Linked DNA regions of Homo sapiens: region 2 is linked to region 1. The links are contacts of gene promoters, found by promoter capture Hi-C in blood cells and fetal thymus (Javierre and others, 2016). All regions are on one chromosome and are shown on one strand. Each heading gives the region's core, a stretch centred on a gene start or on the middle of the fragment in contact. The rest is flanking DNA. Distances are from core to core; before and after follow the strand shown. Region 1 holds the start of MPHOSPH6 (M-phase phosphoprotein 6). Region 2 overlaps HSD17B2 (hydroxysteroid 17-beta dehydrogenase 2).

What was found. Contacts are between HindIII fragments. The CHiCAGO score rates a contact against its expected background, and 5 or more counts as called.
Region 2: a fragment that was not itself captured here is called in contact with the fragment with the promoter of MPHOSPH6 in region 1 in 4 of 17 cell types (M2 macrophages, monocytes, M1 macrophages and 1 more); the score reaches 7.0 in M2 macrophages.

What each region holds. Positions count from the first base shown.
Region 1 is chr16:82,168,433-82,172,308 of GRCh38, reverse strand. It overlaps MPHOSPH6 (M-phase phosphoprotein 6), which reads left to right and starts at 2,085. Exons shown (of 5, transcript NM_005792.2): 1 at 2,085-2,184. The coding sequence starts at 2,134. RefSeq lists a silencer at 1,950-2,109, a cis regulatory region at 2,156 and an enhancer at 2,084-2,228. The HindIII fragment of the contact is 21,548 bases long and covers 1-3,876 here.
Region 2 is chr16:82,038,103-82,041,978 of GRCh38, reverse strand. All of the region lies in intron 1 of HSD17B2 (hydroxysteroid 17-beta dehydrogenase 2), which reads right to left. Among named protein-coding and RNA genes, the nearest start is that of HSD17B2, 4.8 kb to the right of the region's middle. The HindIII fragment of the contact is 826 bases long and covers 1,208-2,033 here.

The DNA of each region.
Region 1 (3,876 bases), core at 836-3,335:
GGCTAGAGGTCTAAGATCAAGGTGTTGGCAGGTTTGGTTTCTCCTGAGAGATTTTTTAAATTTTTTTTATTTTTTTGGCTTTCAGATAGTCTTTCCTTTATGCAAACACAACCTTGGTGTCTGTGTCCAAATTTCCTCTTCTTATGACGACATCAGTCAGACTGGATTAGGGCTCACCCTAAGGGTCTTGTTTTAATCACCTCTTTAAAAAGGACTGTCTCCAAATACATTCACATTCTGAGGCACTGGGAGTTGGAACTTCAACATATGAATTTTGGGGGATGCAATGTGGCTTATGATTAACCTCTACTGTTTCCACTTGTAAAACTTTTAACACGGACTTTGTCTTGTTCATATCTGAGGACCTTTACAGTTGATGCTGTCTTCTGAGCACACTCTACCTCCAACTCTTCATAAAACACGTTTTTCTCAACTTTCAAGCCTTAGCACCATCATCTGACAAGGGCCGTTCCAAACCACCTGGTCTAAAGTAACCCTAAGCGTTACTCTGTCACATCACTGTTTTCTCTCTTTCATAGCAGTCGCCACTTACTTACGTCCAGAATATCAGCTTCAGGAAAGGTGGGGATATGTGTTTTTACACGCTATTATACCCCCGGCATCTCACACACAGTCACAAGTGAATGAGATTCTGTAGCCACTTGGTACATTACAATGATTTTATTTACCCCTGGGAAAACCTAAAGGGCTTTTAACATCCAAATCGGTGTTTGAATTTCAGCTCTAACATGGATTAGCTGTGTGAACACCAAGTGCGTTACCCACTCTGTGTCTCAGAATCCTTAACAACACGATGACAATACCTTCTTTCCGGTTCTTATGGGGATTAAGTGAACTAATTAGCCCTAAGGTGACCAGGTCAACAATCTGACGTAGAACTCATGGTATCAGCCGAGATGCTATTAGCTTGAGGGTGTTCCAAAGCGTCGGACCTGGGAATGGTTTTCGAAAACGTGTTTAGGTGGTACCCAGAGCATTAAACACCAGGGTAGGAACGCTACCCTATTTTCAGTGGTTTTTTAAATTCTTTTTTGTTTTGTTGTTTTGTTTTTGAGACAAAGCCTCACTCTGTAGCCCAGACTGGAGTCCAGTGGCGGGATGTCAGCTCACTGCAGCCTCGACGTCCCGGGTTCCAGTGATTCTCCAGCCTCAGCCTCCCAAGTAGTGGAGACCACAGATCCGTGCCACCACACCCAGCTATTTTTGTTGTATCTTTTGTACATTTTTTGTATATTTTGTATATATTTTTTGTATGTATATTTTGTATATTTTTTGTGTATATATATATATATATATATATATATTTTTTTTTTTTTTTTTTTTTTTTTTTTTTTTGTAGAGGTGGGGTCTCCCTATGTTGCCCCTCGCTATGGTCTTTTCAATTCTTTGGATCAAAACCAGGCTTTGTTCTCATTCATGTGTCTTTGGCACCCATCCCTGCCTCCATCCCTTGCCATTTCTTGAGATTCTTCTGTTTAGCAGAGATCACTCGGCCAGACACGCATCGGCAGCAGCCTGGGAATGAAGCCAGCCTGCCTGGGGCGGCCCCCGCCGCGCTCCCCCGGGACTCCGGGCTGCTGTGAGGAAAGCAGCAACTCGTGGGGTCCTGGTGAAGAGAAAACGACCTGGACCCTGCAAAGCGACCCAGAACAAAGGGAGCCCGCCACCCACGTTATGAAGACAAAACACGTGGGTAACACGGCCCAGGCGGGTGGCAGGCGTGGCGGAAACCTCTCTGAGGCTGGCGAGGACTACTGAGTGTGGAGGGGGTCCCTGAGGAAGGGAGTCCCCGAGGGAGGATGGGCCTCCGAGGGGGCCAGGCCGACGTCCCGGGAAGGCGACCCGCGGCTCGGGGAAGCCAAGTTCTGGGTCGTCCTCTGACTTCGGCTTTTTTGCGGTCTGCCGCGCTCATCCCCGCGCCCGCCACCCCGCGAGCTTACCCGAGCCTCTCAGTCAGCAGAGCGCCCGCTGAGTGGCCGCGCCCGCGCGCAAGACACAGGGGAGGGGCGGGGCGGGGCGGCGCGCACTACGCGAGGGACGCAGCTGCGCACGCGGCTCCGCGCATGTGCGGTGAGGCTCGCGGCCGGAGTGCGGCGCTGGGCGGAAGCTACCATGGCGGCCGAGCGAAAGACAAGGTTGTCCAAGAATCTACTGCGCATGAAGGTGCGGGGACGCTGAGAGCGCCACTCCGGGCGGTAGGGGCACCCGGTCCTTCCAACCTGGCCGGGGCCGAGGCGGCGGGCGGACAAGGGACACCAGAGAGGCCTCAGAGGGCTTCCAGCTCTCGTGCTCATTCATTCACTTAGCGCCTGCTCTGCACTGTTTACTGGGAACCAGCTTACGAATTAGGCCGACTCTCTCAGGAGGCCCGCGGGCGGATGGGAGCTTGAGTACACAGAAGCAGTCAGGGTACAGCTTACCCAGTGCAGTGAGGGTAGAAGCGCTGGGGACCTTGGGGACTCACCGAGCTTCTCGAGAAGTTGTTGCTTACTTATATATGCAATAAATATGATATATGGGAAGTGTAACTCCTTAGCTGGGTAATTTAGGTAAATTCACTTCTTTCTCTGAATATCTCTTTTCCTCATCTTTAAAAAGAAGAGCATTAGGCTACATGAGTTCAAGCTCCTTTTTAATTTTGATAATACTTCTTTTAGTAGAGTTCTTCAGAGAAACAGAATCAACAAGATGTATATGTGTATATATGTGTATGGAGAGAGGGGGTATTTTTAAAACTGGATCACACGACTGTGGAGATGCAAGTCTAAAATCTGCAGGGTGGGCCAGTAGGCTGGAGACCCAGAGAAGTACTCAGTCCAAGTCCAAAGACAGTCTGCTGGCAGAACTCCCTCTTCTTCCAGGGAGAAGAGGGTGAGTCTCGCAGGGTAGTCTCTAGGTTACTGGGAGGGTGGAAGGCACAGCGTCCTAAACTAGGAGAAACTGAGTTCAGAAGTCTGAGAGGCAAGAAAGAAAAAGAAAACCATGGAAATTTCCAAGAATTAGAGACAATTCAGTATGTCTGGAAGGCAAGTACTAAGAAATGGGGTTGCAGAGTAGGCAATGGTCACAACGTGCAGGGAATTTGAGGCCAGATTAAAGATATTTTCCTTTATTTTGTGAGCAATGGAAAGCTATTGAAACGGGGAACAGTATCAAGAAAATGGCAAATATTTATAGTACTAGACAATGATTGAAGTGGTTTGCGTATATTAACCTATGCAATTCACATAATGACACTTTGAGGTGACTACAGGCAGTAACTCTCTTCTTACAGCTAAGGCAACTGAAACAGAAATAAGTAATTTACCCAAAGTTACACAGCTAATAAGTAGTGTAGACAGGACGGGAATTCAGGCAGTCTGGCTCCAGAACCCTGGCTCTTTATTACTACTCTGTACTCTGTGATGCCTGTCACTAAGCACTACTTCTAGAGAGTAGCAAACTGTTACATGTCATGTTTAAAGAGGTGGAATTTCCAAAAGAGGGAAGGAAGCATTCATAATGTTTTGAAAGATAGGCCATTCGCAGTGGCTCATGCCTGTAGTCCCAGCACTTTGAGAGGCTGAGGTAGACAAATCGCTTAAGCCCAGGTGTTTGAGACCATCCTGGGCAACATGGTGAAACCCCATCTCTACAAAAAATACAAAATATTAGCCAGGCCTAGTGGCACGCACCTTTAGTCCCAGCTACTTGGGAGGCTGAGGTGGGAGGATCACTTGAGCTTGGGAGATCAAGGCTGCAGTGAGCTGAGATGGCGCCACTGCACTCCAGCCTTGGTGACACAGGGAGACCCTGTCTCAAAAAAAAAAAAAAAAGAGAGAGAGTAAACATTATATGGGCAAGATTTGAATGGAG
Region 2 (3,876 bases), core at 371-2,870, 130 kb after region 1:
AAGGATCACAAGAGGAGATGATAAATTTTTTTTAAAACATGCCAAATTTAAAGTTTCAGGCTAAAATTCTGGAAATATGAGTCAGGAGCTCAGAAGAATGTCAGGTATACAAAACCACGATTTGCCAGTCCTCTCTCAGAGGAGATAATTGATACCACAGGAGCAGGTATGACTTTGCTGCTGGGTAGAGAATGCAGCCATATAAGAAGGTGGAGTAAAGACAGAGTCAGAGATTACCTTGGAGGAAGTGTAGGAAGAACCCGGAAGAGTCAAAGGACAAAGAAGCATGGAAATGCAGTTCCTGCAAGGCTAACGAGGCCATGAAAAGAAAGAAAGTATGGTCGGCAGTGCTGGAGCAGAAGTCAAGCTCTGGTGATTAGAAGGACACCAGTGACACTTAGAGAGCAGTTTCAGCAGACTGGTGGAAGCCAGTGGATGTTCTATTTGTGCCACATCCTGGGTAAGCAGGAGCACGCTTAGAACCAAATCAGCATAAAGCCTTGTCCAGGGCAAGCCAACAATTAAGTCACTACAGAACAATGGAGCTTCCAACAGCTCAGCCATGTCACTCTGCCCTTTTTATGCAAATGACCCCAGCAAAAAGAACAGCAAAGGTAAGTACCTAAGTGAGTGGGCAGATTGGGACAATCCTATTGTGTCCAACTAACGACCATGAAAAGGAGAGGACGTTTCACCCACATGGTTGGTTCACTCACTGTGCATTCGCTCATTAACACTGTGTTAGGCCTAACGTGCTGAGAGACTGAGAAGAGGCACATGGTCATAAAAAGAGACCTGGTTCCTGCCTTCAAGCCGCTTGCAGTATAGTTGGCATGGATTTCCATGCAGTCAGAATACTCCCCAGTCAAAACACTCCATCTATAATGCCTGATACAATCATTGTTCAAACTTTCACAAAATTACCCGGGTTATCAAAACCTTTTTTATGCTTCCCTGTAGTAGGTAAAGGTAAAACTTAAACCGCATGATAAGTGGGGACATTTGTTCATGTAAAAATCATCTGGTAGACTGAATTATAGACTCACTAAGGGCCATCCTTTCAACATCCACCATCACTTTGTTGCTCATGCTTCTCCAGCATCTATCTACAAATCTAACCAAGTTCTATTTCATTATTTCCAATTTCCAGTGACACTTCACTTGAACTACCCTTCACTGCTCTCAGACTCAGTTCTGAAGTCAAGCTTAGCACATGGCATGTCTCAAATCATCACCCTCTGCAAACATCCCTAGCCCTGTGTATGGTACTCTTATTTCATCATCCCTCATAAGCATCTTCTACACCCAATCAATTGCCAAGCTCTGTATTAAGCAGAGTCATGGGCACATAACAGATGTTCAATATTTACTTGTTGATTGAATGGACACGTTTTATATCCTGGGTAACCTTTGTGGTCTAATACCAACTATGGATCTAACACTTCTAATGACAGTGGTTAAGAGGATGGCTTTTGGTGAGAGATGGATCTGATCTGGGTTTAGTCCAATCTTGGCTACTTAGTAGCTCAGTGACTTTGGACGCATTTCCTTGTTTACAAATGTGAATTATTAGGGTTGTGAGAATCAAATATAAAATGCATGTAAAGGTTAGAGCACAGAGATGTTATTTCTCTTAGTCTCTTAGTCCACTGTCAATGTTTATCCATCTTAATAATCTAACGTGAAATCCAAAGGAGTCCAAACCCCAAGATGATACCCATGGTATTCAACTTGAGAACCTTATTTGGACTGTTCAGTAATTGCAAGAAGGGATGATCACTCACGTGAGACACTTTCTTGTGAGCATAAAATATTTTCACTGAAAACAGATCTTACTTCTCCTCCTGGATCCGTTCTCCAATATATCCAGTTTTGAAATTTTCAATTAAAAATTATCTAATGCAGCAAGCCTTATTGAGTGCTAGCTGTATTTGTTGTAGCTACTTAACCAATTAGGCTGGAATACCTTCTCACTTTCCCCCTAGAAAACTAATTTTAGATTCTTAACGAGGTCCCTCTTTTTTTGTCAAGCTTTCCCCAGCTCCACACACAAGACCTGTGTCTGCCTGGGATCCGCTTTGGGAATGAACCTGGAGGTTTCTTATGTGCCCCATCACACAGCCACAGTTGGGTGTGGCCGTGTCTTCCCCAGTGGTCCATGAAGCCCTGAGGTGTCTGCTCTGTACACAGTAGATGCTGAGTCGGTTCTCAATATTTGAGATGACTGGAGGGGGCAGGATGAAAGGCCAGAGGATAGAAACTTAAAGTTACCTGTGCATCTCCTGCCAAGCTTAGAGGGTAGGCTGAGAAGGACAACGTGTAACCTCAGAAGAGGGGGAAGGAACTCCAGTGAATGTGTGTCCAAGATGAAGGAAAAGTAGGAATTTTGATCCCATCGCTTGACAGTAATTTCCTGGTCTTAAAATTTTCTTCCCCCTTTGCTTCTGGAAAATGCATGGCACATACTGGGCCCTCAATGAATATTTATTGAGTGAATACATGAATGCTTCTTCTCTCTGTTTGTCAACGTTTTCTTTTGTTCTTTTTGTTCCTTCATGTTCTTCCTAACTACTCAAGCTTTCCCCTCACCACCCCAATACAGTCATTCTCTCTCTCTCTCTCTCTCCCTCTCTCTCTCTCTCTCTCTCATCTGCTAACTCCATCTATAGTAGTATAACATATGCAGGGGTGTGTGTGTGTTTGTGCGTGTGTGTGTGTGTGTGTGTGTGTATTATTTTCCATTTACAGAGGAGAAAACAGAGTCCCAAAATCCAAAACCGAGCACCAAAGTTTACACAGCTGTCCACACAGCTAGTAATAAAGATGCAGCAAATAAGATGCTATTCCCCCAGAACCCTCCCACTGTTGTGTGCATCAATCCATGGTGCACTTTGACTCCCAGCAGCCAGCACCTGCGATTCTTTCCCCAAAGGACCAGAACCCACTTTGCCAGCCAGTGTCCACATGGTGCCAGAAGTGCATGGAATTAAGTCTCCCCTCCTGCCCACAACCAAGGGGGAACAGGGGTGACTGCCCTTAACTAATGATTGACTGGTGTGAAGGCATAAAGACTACAGCTCTCTAGTCTCCAATTGGCACAGCTCTGATGAGTGATCCACACCACCCCACGTCCGCCCAGGGTGATCAAGCCCAAGTGATCTTCAGAGGACTTCTCAATGTCTCACCCTTACCTGGCTTCTTCCTTTTCCCTGCCCATCTTCTCTGGAAACCCTCCTAATAAATCTTTCCCACAAATCCTCACAGAAAGCACTGCCTCTGGGGACCTAGCCTAAGGCAAGGTAGATGCAGGATTCAAACCCAAGCCTGTGTGTCTTCAAAGTTTTTTCCCACTATGTTGTGGTTGAGATGTTATTACAATCGTGTTGGTCTGCTCTTTGTTCATTTTACAGTTATACATTTAAAATGCATCATACAACCCTGTCTCTACTAAAAATACAAAAATTAGCCCAACGTGGTAGCACGTGCCTGTAATCCCAGCTACTTGAGAGGCTGAGGCAGGAGAATCACTTGAACCCGGGAGGCAGAGGTTGCAGTGAGCTGAGATCATGCCACTGCACTCCAGCCTGGGCAACAGATTGAGACCCCATCTCAAAAAATAAAATGAAATAAAATAAAATAAAATGCATCACACATACATTTTAAATATTTGAATGGCCTCTGTGGTTTCAGGTATCTTGAAGACAAATATGTATTCAAACACTCTATGCTTGCTTACTTTTTCTTACTGTAATTATATTGTCTCTGAGGCAACAGACTTTTGAACATCTTAGCAAAATGAAATAAAGGGCTCAAAGGGGAGAAAAAAGTCATTTTTTTAAATTTGTCTTTGTAATTGCCTCTCACCTGGGTCCAAAA